Linked DNA regions of Homo sapiens: regions 1, 2, 3 and 4 are each linked to region 5. Evidence: promoter capture Hi-C in 16 types of primary human blood cells and fetal thymus (Javierre and others, 2016). All regions are on one chromosome and are shown on one strand. Each heading gives the region's core, a stretch centred on a gene start or on the middle of the fragment in contact. The rest is flanking DNA. Distances are from core to core; before and after follow the strand shown. Region 1 overlaps CCDC25 (coiled-coil domain containing 25). Region 2 overlaps CHRNA2 (cholinergic receptor nicotinic alpha 2 subunit). Region 3 overlaps PTK2B (protein tyrosine kinase 2 beta). Region 4 overlaps ESCO2 (establishment of sister chromatid cohesion N-acetyltransferase 2). Region 5 holds the start of CLU (clusterin).

The links. The method cuts DNA at HindIII sites, captures the fragments that hold promoters and counts their contacts. A CHiCAGO score of 5 or more calls a contact.
Region 1: a fragment that was not itself captured here is called in contact with the fragment with the promoter of CLU in region 5 in 3 of 17 cell types (megakaryocytes, endothelial precursors and M1 macrophages); the score reaches 17.1 in megakaryocytes.
Region 2: a contact is called between a fragment that was not itself captured here and the fragment with the promoter of CLU in region 5, in 1 of 17 cell types (megakaryocytes). The highest score is 6.0, in megakaryocytes.
Region 3: a contact is called between a fragment that was not itself captured here and the fragment with the promoter of CLU in region 5, in 1 of 17 cell types (erythroblasts). The highest score is 5.1, in erythroblasts.
Region 4: a contact is called between a fragment that was not itself captured here and the fragment with the promoter of CLU in region 5, in 1 of 17 cell types (endothelial precursors). The highest score is 5.4, in endothelial precursors.

Annotation. Positions count from the first base shown.
Region 1 is chr8:27,760,303-27,763,002 of GRCh38, forward strand. CCDC25 (coiled-coil domain containing 25) reads right to left here. Exons shown (of 9, transcript NM_018246.3): 3 at 2,117-2,156. Among named protein-coding and RNA genes, the nearest start is that of CCDC25, 11 kb to the right of the region's middle. The HindIII fragment of the contact is 4,892 bases long and covers 1-2,700 here.
Region 2 is chr8:27,472,563-27,475,262 of GRCh38, forward strand. All of the region lies in intron 1 of CHRNA2 (cholinergic receptor nicotinic alpha 2 subunit), which reads right to left. Among named protein-coding and RNA genes, the nearest start is that of CHRNA2, 5.3 kb to the right of the region's middle. The HindIII fragment of the contact is 1,528 bases long and covers 551-2,078 here.
Region 3 is chr8:27,357,856-27,360,555 of GRCh38, forward strand. All of the region lies in intron 1 of PTK2B (protein tyrosine kinase 2 beta), which reads left to right. Among named protein-coding and RNA genes, the nearest start is that of PTK2B, 34 kb to the left of the region's middle. The HindIII fragment of the contact is 1,146 bases long and covers 786-1,931 here.
Region 4 is chr8:27,778,409-27,781,108 of GRCh38, forward strand. ESCO2 (establishment of sister chromatid cohesion N-acetyltransferase 2) reads left to right here. Exons shown (of 11, transcript NM_001017420.3): 4 at 1,766-1,859. Among named protein-coding and RNA genes, the nearest start is that of ESCO2, 5.2 kb to the left of the region's middle. The HindIII fragment of the contact is 2,376 bases long and covers 72-2,447 here.
Region 5 is chr8:27,613,367-27,616,066 of GRCh38, forward strand. CLU (clusterin) reads right to left here and starts at 1,334. Exons shown (of 9, transcript NM_001831.4): 1 at 1,289-1,334. RefSeq lists enhancers at 966-1,465, 2,422-2,700 and a silencer at 1,488-1,577. The HindIII fragment of the contact is 8,616 bases long and covers 1-2,700 here.

The sequences.
Region 1 (2,700 bases), core at 53-2,552, 150 kb after region 5:
TGCATCTGATTATGTAACCTTCTCTATGCAGGTTTTTATGCCTCAAACCTGATAGGTTAAAAATTTCCATCAGCTAACTGCCTAACAGGTGCAGCCATTCTTATTCCCATGAGAGTCTGGAGATCTTTAAAAACAACTGAAAATCATCCAGCTGGGGTTGGCAGGAGCTCAAAATGGAGATAACCATGATGTGGCCATTGTAGGGAAATGTCCATGGAGACTGCTTCTACGCTGGCAGGGAGTCAATTAGGAAATCAACCAATATTTACTGAATACCTACTATGTGCCAGGACCTATGCTAGGTACTGGGGACATAGTAGTTAATGAAATAGGTGATCATTGTCCTCATACAGCTTACTGTCTCAGGCCCTAGGAAGGCGGGCAGCCCCAGTCTGGATGTTTTCAGCATTGCACACTGCCCACTTGAGGCAAAAGAGCACCAAGCAGGGTTTAACTTGATGACATATTTGGATTTAGAAGACAGGTTTTTGTGCTGGAATAGGGACCAGATTTAAATAAGCCTTTAAAATTCCTTTGTTCTGGCTGGGCGCGGTGGCTCACGCCTCTAATCCCAGCACTTTGGGAGTCCAACGCGGGTAGATCACCTGAGGTTAGGAGTTCGAGACCAGCCTGGCCAATGTGGTGATAGCCCCAGTCTCTACTAAAAATACAAAAAATTAGCCAGGCATGATGATGGGTGCCTGTAGTCCCAGCTACTCGGGAGGCTGAGGCAGGAGAATCTCTTGAACTAGGGAGGCAGAGGTTACAGTGAGCCGAGATCGCACCATTGCACTCCAGCCTCGGCAACAAGGGCGAAACTCCGTCTCAAAAAAAAAAAGAAAATTAAATCAACTCTTCTAAAAAGCAGTAGCCCAACTCTATCACTAGAGGGAAATAAGTGAAGGGTCTGTGTCCACATTTGGAGAAAAGAGGTCCAGAGAGAGCTGCAGCAACAGCCTGGGAGAAGAAAGGAGCTGAAGCCAAAAGAGCAGCAGCCTGGAGAAGACAGAAGCAGTGACTTAGAACCAGAGCCAGAGCCAGTAGCAGACAGAGCAGACCCAGTCAGTTTCTCTTAACCTTAATTTCCTCATCTGAAAAAATGGGCATAAATATTAATATCTATTTCACAGGGTTGTTGTGAAGTTAAATGTATTAATGGAGGTAAACACTTAGTAGTATTTGGCATATAGTTAAGTGCTTGACAGATATTCACTATCATAATAAAGCAAACGGGACCCAGGTGCCTTTATCTTCAGGGATAGCATTTGGTAGGAGGTATGAGGAGTCAGGAAGATGATATCCCACTCCATAGGCAGGACTGTGCTCTAGAAGAGAGGCAATACTAGGGTCAGAGTCAGTGGTGGAAGCTGAAGATGAAGAAAACGAAAGTAGACTGGGTGTGACAGTGTTATAGGACAGAAGCCCATGTATTCATAAAAGGCCCCAGGTCTGAATGGTAGAAGTCTATATGGTGTTCTAAGACAGAGAAAAGAATTCAGCTTAAATGAAGTCTTTTTGTTTGTTTGGTATTCTTTTTTTTTGGACTGGGTTTTGTGAGCAAAATAAATGATCTCAAAAGGAGACTAAGAAAGTATATGTTATTATTTAAAACAGTTCACATAAATTGTTTTAGAAAGAAGGCGTCGGGGTTGGATCAAGACAGAGCTAAACTCATCAGGGAGTTTAGAAGACAAAGGGGAACAAGTGTGCTTCCTTTAAAGCTGGACCAGTAAGAACCTCCGTCTATTCCATCCGCATGGATGCTTGTATCTATTTTCTTCATTGCTTCATGTGAAGTCTTCATTTTTCCACTCAAGAACAGTGGTCTGAATATTTAAGTGAGGTGTGGTCTCAGTAACTTACTATGGCGTGGAGACAAAAAGGAGGAAAAAGAAGGCCTGTGTCCTAGAGGCCTTTGCTCTCAAGCCTGAGATCAAACCCAAAAACATCATTTCCAACTTGCAAGGTAATTAGAAATGAAGGAACTGGCAGTCAGCTGTTTAACCCTGAAGACCCATAAACCACAGTACAAAGCATGATTCTAGTTTGAATGCTTGGCCAAGTCTAAGAAAGGAAATGATGATCTACAGAGGGCAGAACCAAAATTGTTACTTACCAGATATCTTCAGGCCAGCCATGCTTGATCAGATCTTCATCTGCAATGAGATATGAGAAACGAAAGAAACAAAAACTGTCAAATGAAGATATGCCAGGGTTTATAAGAATGGGAGAAATGTCAGCTCCTCCCACAAATTTCTCTCTCCCTCAATGAAGAAGAGTAATTCGGAGGCCTTGATGCTTGAAAATACAGAAAAAATAATAATTTTCATAATTGAACAATATGAACTTTATAATTTTTATAAATTTATATAATACTTCTAATCTAAAGCTCAGATATTATTTCTATATGAAGATAATAAAACTAACACTGACAAAACAAAGCAACCAATAGTTCAGATGTTTCAGATAATCAATTCACCTAATAATACTTAAACATTAAAAAGAACTGGCTGAAACTTTAAAGAAATATTTTACTTCTTTAAGAAAAATTAACTTGATTATAAAATTACAGAAAATTTAAAACAAAACAAACATTAGAAGTATAAAAAGAAAATAAAAATCACCTTAAATTCTATCACACATGGAAATAAAACACCAGAAGAAATAGCTAACAGAGTGAAAAGTAATTGTCTGGGGAGG
Region 2 (2,700 bases), core at 65-2,564, 140 kb before region 5:
ACATTGTATGATCCTACTGATATGGAATATGCAGAATAGGCAAATCTATAGAAACAGAACGTAGATTAGTGGTTGCAGGGGCAGCGGGAAGGAGGGATGGGAAGTGACTGCTTAATGATCACTGAGTTTCCCTTAGAGGGGATAAGAGATCTCTGGAACTAGACGGTGTGATGTTACACAGATGTGTGAATATACTAAAATTCACCGAATTGCACACTTTAAATGGGGGAATTTTATGATATTTGAATTTATCTCAAAAAAAGTTATTATTAAAAAATAAACAAACACCTCATGGATTAAGAAGCAGCAGCTACCCCTCTTGACTGTGGTGACAGTGATATTTGCCAAACATGGAGAATCAATACACAAAGGGTTCTAGTGACCAGAAGGACACAGATGTCAAAGATGGGGTAAATATAATGTTTCATATGAAATGAATGTTTCATAATTGAGAAAATTGGGAAAAGCAGTATTTTAAAATATTATTTTATAGAGTATTTGATTTAAAAAATATATATATATATCACTAAAATAACATTATTGCCTTAAAAGCTTACACATTCAAATTAGCATTTTTTGAAACAGCCCCCCTTATGGAGAGAAGAGCATGGCCTCATGTTCCGGGACACATCGTGTATGTGGCCTAGGGAGATAACAAAGGCTCTCGGTACAGCTAGTGGGTGCAGGATTTCCTTTGGAAGGGTGAGAATGTTCTGGAACTAGATAGTGGTGACGGCTGCACACTGTTCGAATTGTACTAAATGCCAATAACGATCAATTTTATGTTATGTGTATTTAGCCACAACTTTTCAAGAAAGAATAAGGGTAAAAGTGGCTTTAAAAATATAAACCAAGGGCTGGGTACAGTAGCTCATGCCTGTAATTCCAGCTCTTTTGGAGGCCAAGATGGAAGGAGTGTTTGAGCTCAGCAGTTCAAAACCAGCCTGGGCAACATAGTGAGACCCCCCCCGCCGTCTCTACAAAAAATTCAAAAATTAGCTGGGCATAGTGGTGCGTGCCTGTGATCTCAGCTACTGGGAAGGCCAAGAAGGGAGGGTCGTGTGAGCCTGGGGAAGTCAAGGCTGCAATGGGCTATGATCTTGCCACTGCACTCCAGCCTGGACAACAAGCAAGATCCCATCTCAAAAAGAAAATAAAAATAAAAGTAAACCACCGGGTATGAGAGAATCAGAATTATTATTCATGAAGTTGTGAAACCACTTCTATCTAGTCATTCTCATCCCCCCCGTCCACTCTGACACAGACTCTCAACAGTGTTTCCAGCATCACTAATCCTCCATCTCTCCCAGGGTCGGTTGCACCGGCCCATCCTAACCTCCTGGCAGGAGATGAGAGCAGGGCTGGCACTGGCAAATGTCGCTTTGAGTCCTGGCCCCACCACTGGCTGGTGATGATCTGTGAAAGGTCACTCAATCCCCCTGGGATTTTGTCTTAAGATAAAGATTGGACACTTTCTGCCCTGTGGGAGGAGTGACGGGAGCAAACGGGATCACTTGTGCCCATGAAAGTCCCCGGGGAACTGCAGAGGGCTGGTCAGGGAACAGGTTGCTCTTATGGTTGTCAGGGCCCATGACCCACAGTGGCATTGCACAATGACAGTTTGGGTCAAGTAGGAGAAGAGGAATGTGGGAAGGATTTGATGTGAATTTCAATGTGTTGGAATTGCTGGCATATACTGACTACAGCACAGACACCAGAGTGTTTTAGGGGAAAAGGGCCTGCCTGCATCAATTTCCCCAGAAGGTTTCAATTCAAAGACTTGTTGAAAATAGAGGATTACATTTTTCTTCTGTTCCCTTGGGAGAATATTGCCCCTGTCCATGAGCTGCCCTTATCCTCCATGCCACCCTACACCCCATCCTGCCCTGGGATTCCTCCCTTTGTCCCAGCTCTTAGAGGTTCCCGGTTCCTTCCTGGCTCTGAAAATCCCCAGCTGGCAGGTGCAAAAGGTTGGCGGTTCCCAGTATATGTATGGAATGAACTGCCCGAGAGAGCATCCCAAAGCTCTCCCAGAATGGTGCCTCCAGGGGGAGAAGCAGGGAGTCCTGGCAGTGGGAAGCTTCTCCACAGATAGGCCTGGTACACACAGCCCCACTGGAGCTGCTCTGTTCACACAGCAAACCCTGCAGCATAACTGTCAAGAGCTCTCGTTCAGGAGTGCAGCTTTATATAATGTGTAAACTCACATCGCCCTGCAAATTATGCAGAATGTTTGTACAGCACCCACCCCAGCCTGGGCATCAGCAGCTTCTGTGGCTCAGGTGAACCGCAGTGGCAAGGTCTGGGATCTCTGGCCCTCGAAGGTGCAGGGACTTGTCCCCAGGGGACTTCCCCAAAGCAGACCATTGCAAAGGAAACAGCACAGCTAACTGATTTCCAGAGACAGCTTTACCATCTTGCTCTTTTCTCTTTTAATCTCTTTTCTGCATACAAATAGATCACCTGTGTTATCTCTGGGCGCAGGAATTAGAGGTGATTATTATTCTTTTTGACAGTTTTCTGCATTTTCCAAATTTCCCACTATCAACATGTATCGGTCACTTAATATAAAAATAATTTTCAAGCAGGCAGCAATACCTGTGATGTGTTTTACAAGCCCTCCCCTCATCTCACAGCAGCAGGAGCTCACCCAAACTGTGTAGATTTGACTCCACTCTTCCATCAGAATGCAGTGCAGTT
Region 3 (2,700 bases), core at 109-2,608, 260 kb before region 5:
GTGAAAATATGGTCCCTAGCCTCATGGAGATTATGTCAGATGACTGCAATTTAGACTCTATAGCTCCCCAGTCATGTGACCTCTGAAAAGTCACTTAATATCTTTGAAGCTCGGTTTCTACTCTGTAAATTGGGGTTACTAGTAGTAATTGGGGTAACCAAGCCAACCTCATTGGATTTCTATGGGGTTGCATAAGAAGGTTTACTTAGTTCTTAGCACAATGTCTTAAACATAGTAGACGTTCCCTTTTTCTCATTAGTTCTCTTCATCCTCACTCTTTGCTCCCCTCCTTGGTAGATTGGTTAGAACCATCTAAATTCCCCCAGGGCAGCACAGGGCTGTGGATATAGCTCTGCACTGTAGGTTCAGCTGAGTTAAGCCATCCTCAGTTGAGTTGACTGCTACACAGTTTTGTAGCACTCAGGCCAAATGAAACCATGAAGAAGAAAAGAAGCAATACTTTTTGCATTTCTGTCCATTTTTGCTTTATATTTTTAATTGTCTGTGTTTTGGTGCATATAAGCTTATGATTGTAACTTCTTGGCAAATTTTTCCTTTTTAACATGATTCCTCATAATCATATTTTTAATGTTTTTCTTCAAATCTTATTTGCTATTTTATATATCAATATCAACTTTCACTTAGTAACTGGTTTATATTTTTCTGTCTCTTTATTTTTAACTTTTGATGTCTTAATGTTTTTAGGTTTGCTTCTTGTAAACTACAGATAGCTGGATTTTTAAAAAATTAAGTCTAAGTGTCTTTGTCTTTTAACAGGCAATTTAAGCTTCTTTATTTATTAAGACTTCTAATATATTTAGTATATGTATACTACATTATTTTGTTTGCCATGCTTCATCTTTGCCTTTTCTCACCTCTTGCCTTTCACTGTATTGATTATGTGTTTATTATTTTCTCCTCTTGTAGCCTATTGGTTTAGAAGTTATATATTAGGTTTCTATTATTTTAATGGAAAAATAGGTTAAAAATAAAACCTAATAATAGGTTTCTATTATTTTAATTTTTTAACACATACTTGAATTTAAGGTCTAACATTAATCAATATCATTATCCTCCTTACCAAATTGGAAGGATTTTATGGCACTTTGACTCTAATCTTTCTCTTCTCATGTCCCAAACTGTTGTCCACTGGTATTATAGTATTATCTTCTTTTCAACATCTCCCCTCCCCATTTTAGCCATTAGGATTATTATCTTGGACTTTGCATACCTTCTTTTTTTTCTATTTAGATATTGCAAATATATATATTTTTGAAACATACATAGTCTTGCTCTGTCACCCAGGCTGGAGTGCAGTGGCGCGATCTCAGCTCACTGAAACCTCCACCTCCCAGGTTCAAGTAATTCTCCTGCCACAGCCTCCCGAGTAGCTGGACTACAGGCATGCACCACAATGCCTGGTTAATTTTTTGTATTTTTAGTAGAGAAGGGGTTTCACCATATTGGCCAGGCTGGTCTCAAACTCCTGACCTCAAGCGATCTGCCTGCCTCAGCCTCCCAAAGTGCTGGGATTACAGGCGTGAGCCACTGCACCTGGCCTTGCAAATATACTTTTTATTGTCTTAAGTTATTCCATTTACTTCAGTTCTTGATTTTCTAATCTATAACGTGCATCTGCTGCCCCTTTCTCAAGGTGGGTTGCTTGGTTGTATGGATCGTCACTGTGAATTGGGGCAGGAGGAGCAGGGTATTTATGTGTTTTTGCTTATGGAAATGCACTCCAGAGTTCTGCTTTTTCCTCTGCTTGAATCACTTGTCACCATCTCTGGATTTGTTTTTATTTTAATTACTTGGATTAGAATTCCCACTGCATGTAAGTAGAATGACACAGGTTTTGGGTTTTACCTTCTCTCTTTCTTTCTCTCTCCCTATCTTTCTTTCTTTCTTTCCTGGGACCCAGACAGAGGTCAAGCTTCTTCATGCCCAGGGCTGGTGAACAGTGTTTCTAGTGCCCACCTTGTAGTCAGGATGGTATTTGTTGAGTTAATCCCTGCCTCACAAGGGTCTGGAGCCTGAAGACATCACCCTGCACAAACGTTAAACCCCCGGCCCCAGCTCCTGGGCCAACATCCTCTGATACCCAGGTGGCCTCCATAGCTTTAGTGCCCACACACTGCTTTAGATTTTTCCGGATATTTCTGACACCTGAGAATTTCTTCTTTACCACTCGGATGTGATTAAGATGTCTTTGTTATGGTTTATTCAGCATGCCATGCATATGAAGGGGGAAGGGCCCAGTCGACATTAGGTCTGTCTATTACAGGACTGAAAAATCATACATCCCCATGTTCTCACATTGGCAAAAGCTCACTTTCATTTATTCAGTCAACAAATGTCACTGAGTCAACTAGAATCTAGGTCTAGGGTGACGCATAAAGAGACACAGTCCTCCCTGAGCTCCCAGAACTTAACACCCAGAATGGGAGATGGGCTGGAATCAGACAGCCCAAGGAATCCATGCGCGATGCCGGCAAGCGCCGCAGAGAAGGAAAGTCATGCTGATGCTGATGGGAGACGGCTGATGCTCAGAGGAGGCCTGGCCTGGGCAGGGGTCAGGGAGGGATAGAGACAGGGAGCTGTCACAGAGGCCAGAGGACAGCCCAAGAGCATTCAGTGTTTCTGGTGCCCTTCCTCCTTCCAGGTCCCTCCCTCCTTCCAGCCCCGTTCCTCCACCATGGA
Region 4 (2,700 bases), core at 10-2,509, 160 kb after region 5:
TACTAATTCATTTTCTGTTTATATCAACAAAACACTTCTGTGTCTTGATAGGGATTTTGATTACAAGAGTAAGCTTTATCAAAATGTATTAAACTGTGCTTTATACTTATACATTTGTATGAAAATTAAGTTTTTTGAAAGTTTGGGGCGTAACTCAAGCTAAAATTGTCTCAATCCAGTAAAACAAAGGAAGAGTCTGCAGTTTCCCCATGCATCTCCTGATGATTATTCTTATCTGTTTGGTACAGCCTGGTGGTGTACCAAATGAATGGTGACCTGATGAATTCTCTGTAACCAGTGTAACAGAGAATTCTGTAATTCTCTTTTCTGTCTTATTTTCTTTTTCTTAGCTTCACTTTACGGGTTTGGTATTGAGTTAGTTTTCAGTAGTTTGGGAAGCTGGGCTTTTGTGCATTTTAAATTTGTGGAACGGGGCTATGCTCTTTCAAGATTTTGCTAAATACCCATGTCTGGGATTCGTCTCTGCTAGCTAAGGGCGAATCTGATTTTCTGTTTTTTTATTTTGAGATGGAGTCTCACTCCGTTGCCCAGGCTGGAGTGCAGTGGCATGATCTCAACTCACTGCAACCTCCGCCTCCCAGGTTCAAGCAATTCTCTGCCTCAGCCTCCCAAGTAGCTGGTATTGTAGGCACCGGCCACCACACCTGGCTAATTTTTGTATTTTTAGTAGGAACGGGGTTTCACCCTCTCAGCCAGGCTGGTCTTGAACTCCTGACTTTGTGATCCACCTGCCTTGGCCACCCAAAGTGCTGGTATTACAAGTGTGAGCCACCGCGCCTGGCCGGTGAATCTGATTTTTGTGAGGATACCCTTTCCCCAACTCATGGAGCCCTGAAAAGTGTTAAACTGATGGGTTATCCCACCTCTGCTGGGATATTATGGTTTTGAGTAGAAGTTCTACTTTAACCAAGAGTTTTTTTCCTTTTTCCCCAAGCTATATATTCCCTAGTAATTCCCAAATTAGTATGAGGGAAATCTGTCAGGATTTTTTTCTACTTTGCTTTTCCCACATTCCTGCTACTCTCCAGTGACTCTAGAATGTTCTTTCCTTAGCTGCTGATTTTTAAAGTTTATGGCAAAAAGTTGTCCCTTTCCAGTTTGGTGGCTGCTGGGGAAACTTTTGCCATTTTTACTGGCTTTTTTGTTCATTTCATTATGGAAGTGATGGTCTGTAATCATTCTGCCATCTCTGTCAGGAAGTATAACACATTTTTGAGAGGATGACAGATTACAACACGTGTACTCTGGCTTTTTTTTCTTTTGAGACAGTCTTGCTCTGTTGCCAGGCTGGAGTGCAGTGGCACGATCTTGGCTCACTGCAACCTCCGCCTCCTGGGTTCAAGCAATTCTCCTGCCTCAGCCTCCCGAGTAGCTGGGACTGCAGGTGCCACCACGCCCAGCTAATTTTTGTATTTTTAGTAGAGATAGGGTTTCACCATGTTAGCCAGGATGGTCTCAATCCCTTGACCTCGCAATCTACCCACCTCGGCCTCCCAAAGTGCTGGCATTACAGGCATGAGCCACCGGGCCCTGCTGTACTCTGGCTTTAAAGGTAATGTACGCTTAGTGAATACAGGGGAAGTTTTCCTAAAAATAGTTTGAAAATTGATTGAAAATCACATTATGAAATGTAATTCATAATAAACCAAATCTTTTGTTTTAGAAATAGATCTGCTGGGATTCATTCACTAGAAAATAGTTAAAAATTACAGATGTTTGGTTTTTTTTTTAAACCTATTTTCAGGATTCATCAGATGACAGAGTTTCTTCAAAGGAACATAAAGTTGATAAAAATGAGGCTTTTTCTTCAGAGGATTCTCTTGGTGAGAATAAGACAAGTAAGAGAAAACTCGCATGAATTTAGCTGCTTAAAATAATGCTTTATTACATACATTATACAATAATAATTCTTGTAATTTCTGGGTCTTTCTTTTTTCAGTAGCGTGCCTGTGGTTAGTATCTTTGTTTATCTCTGTGACACTGTTTTCTGTAGTAAAGCAGTGCATTGCGTTTTGAAAAACAAGAAACAAGGAGATCCTAGGTTAAAATTTTAGACAAAATATTAGGCTTAATTGGTCTATGGCTGTGGCCAAGTTACTTAAGCTCTCTAGAGTTGAGTGTTCTCATTATAAAATCATACCTACTCTATCTTTCACCCAAAATAATAGAAGTTAAAACTATTATGTATATTTGTGATCAAAGCCCAATTGTGAGCAGAACTTACTAAGTTTTATAAGTGACACTGAAATTAAGCATCAAGAACCATGGATTTTTGTCTAGGTTTACTAATAATTAGCTGTATGATCTAGGAAGATATCTCTAAAGAGTTAAAGTTAATTTTTAAATTCCTGTCAATTCTGAAATCCTATTCCTAATTTATGCTGTCAGTGTTCAATTAAATAGCTTACTAAACTATGAATACATAAAGCTTTTTTTTATGATTCTGAGATATGATGTTAATAACTAGTATTTACTGAGTGCTGAATATAAGGCAGTGCTAAATATTTAGTATACGTTATGTTTTTCATAGATTGTGCTCAAAGCACTGATACAATAGAAAATATAACAAAAAGGCATCTACTTAAAATAGTTATAAATTTTTCTTTTAAAATATATTTTAGTACATTGTCTAAGTCAATTTAAAGAAAAATAGTGAATAAAAATAATACAAATGGTATA
Region 5 (2,700 bases), core at 84-2,583:
CAGAGTGAGACTTGGTCTCAGGAAAAAAAAAAAAAAAGAGAGAAAAGAAAGAAAGAAAATCAATGACTGTGAACAGGGAGCCGTGGGGAGGATGGGAAGACAGTGAAGAGGGCACACAGATGGTGAGGGTTTCAATCCCAAAGCCCCGGCTCCTATCTGCTTCTTCAAATGGAGAAAACTAAACCAAAAGGAAAATAAGAAAAATAATCACCGGTAATTCATATCACCCAGAGGCAAAGGTTAGCACTGTGGTATATTTCCTTCTGTCTTCCATGCAGTTTATACAAGATTCTTCACATTCACCATCTTCAAATATTCTTTAAGGGCATACTTTTATGGCTATGTAATACTCCACTTACTCACGGACCTAAGTTTATTTTACCATTCTCACAAGATTGGCCATTTCAGTTGTGCCCAATGCTCCACTATTATTATAACTTAACATTTTCATGGGCATCTTTTTTTATATAGTATCTGTACTTTCCTTTAAATTCCTAACCTCTCCGTTTAAAAAATAATAATAAAAATCATATTTTTTTTAACTAGGTCCAGAAATTCTGGAAGGTCAAGAGGCTTTGGCTCGAATCCCAATTCTGATACTTATTTGCTGTTTAGTGTTGGCACCAGTCCTAAACCTCTCCAGGCCTCAGATTATCATCTGTAAAATGAGACTGTGGAATCAGAGGTCTGAGGCCTGGTGGATCTTGTGTGACTTTTCTCTGATGCACCTCAGATGCATTAGGAGGCAGAAAAAGTCGGATTTCGGTGGTTGCAGCATATACTGAAATCCGCAGCCTCATACTTACAGGCAACAGTGTCCAGAGAGCTAGAGAATTTAGAAGAAAACTAGATGACTCATGCATGCAAGCCGAAAGCCACAACTGAGAGATCCGCATCTTCGCAGAGGATATGCTGCAGGAAGGAGCTCGGTGCAGGCCAGCTCTGTCACCTGCTAGCCTGGGTCTCCCGCAACGCGGCAGGTCTCCAGGTCTCAGTTTCCCCATCTTTGCGAAAGGATGATCATTATATCTGTTCTATTTACCCCCCCACCACAGAATTGTGGTTGGAGCTCGTGCTCTCAGGCGGCGGTTGCGCCGGGGCCCCTGGCTCAGCTGCCTGGTGATGGGGCTCCGGCCACCTCCCCTCCCTGGCTTCCTGGGCTCCGTCGAAAGCGCAGGGGTTGTGACTGCGAGCTGTGTCATCCCTCTCTGCCTGGCTGCCATCCCCTGCCCGCCCATCCGTCCTGGTGTGGCTCTGCTCAAGGGTAGGGAAGACGGGGACATCTCACCGGTCAGCGGCACCCTGTGCCCGCGCGCTCCTCCTGGCGACGCCGCGTTGTGGGCACTGGGAGGCGCCGTATTTATAGCGCTCTGCTCGCGCACACACCCCCTTTGGGGCTGGCTGCAAACCTGCATGACTCACGCCCAAAGAATGCCGCGGAAAGCAAGGGGAGCTTTCTGGAAGCCGGGAGGTGGGGGCCGGTGCAGCACCGGGCTGGGGGCGCCGGGGGGCGCATCATCACCACGAATAGCTGTGCTGGCTCCAGGAGAGACCCTGAGGTGCGGCCGCTCGGCGCTTCCAGTAGGGAAGAGCCTGAACTCGCGTGCCCATCTGGGAGCCCCTCTCACGCGGTTAGCCCGGCTGTCTGTCCCAGTCCAAGACACAATCTCACAGTTCCCTGGCCCTACTGACCTTAACCTTCACATTACACAAGCGCCACTTCTCTTGACCCATTTAAATAGTAAAGAGTCAGACATAATGAGGGTGGGATGGAGAGGGGCCTTGTGCTGGAGAAGAGAGCACAGGAAGTATTGAAACGCCTACTCCTGGAAACATCACACTGATGGGGGTCCCTGGACTGACCCGCCAGGCCTGGAGGAAACAGAATTGTGTTTAGGAGTGATCAGAGCAGATATGTGGAGAGCCAGAAGGCCTCTCCGGGGTCCTTGATCCACAGAGCTTAAGCAATCACTGTCCCCATCTTTTTGGAACCCAACCAAGCAGGGTGGGCTTCATGGCTGTGGGACCCTTGCAGATCCACGTTTGGTTTAATGGGCTACTGTGACGGTCTTGAAATTCTTCATAGTTTTTGAACCAGTGGACCTGAATTTTTATTTTGCCCTGAGCCTTCCCAGTTAGGAAATCAGATCTGTGTCCAGAGGGGTTTGCTGGTCTCCAACTGCTGGAGTTCCTTCTGCTGAGAGCAGGGAGAATCTCCTGTCGCAGCCACCCCTCCCCCTGGCAAGGAGGGGCAAATCTAGGAACCCTGGAGGTGCAGCTACTTCTTGGGGAAGAAAGTGAGCTGCCCATTTTGGAGCCAGGGATGTTTAAGCCCCAGGAGAGAAGTCAAGGGGCTGACAGCTGGGGCAATGGGTGGACAGGGCGGGTACAGGCAGCCCCACTGTGGGTGGCAGACTTTGAAAACCATGTGAAACAAAGGGGCTTAAAGGAGAGCTGCGTGGTCAGGGGCTGAGTTTTCCAGTTCAGGATCAGGACTATGGAGGCACAACATGGAGGCCCAGTCCCTTGCTTGCCCAACGTCCAGGGGCCACTAGGACCCCAGTCCTTTTCAGGAGGCAGCCTCGGGGAATCTTCAAGGCCCATGACTAAGTGGGAGAACCCAGACCAGGTCCATGAAAGTCTGATTACAGTCCTAGGTGTGCCCCTAGACACTGGGTGACCTCGGACTAATCACTTTGC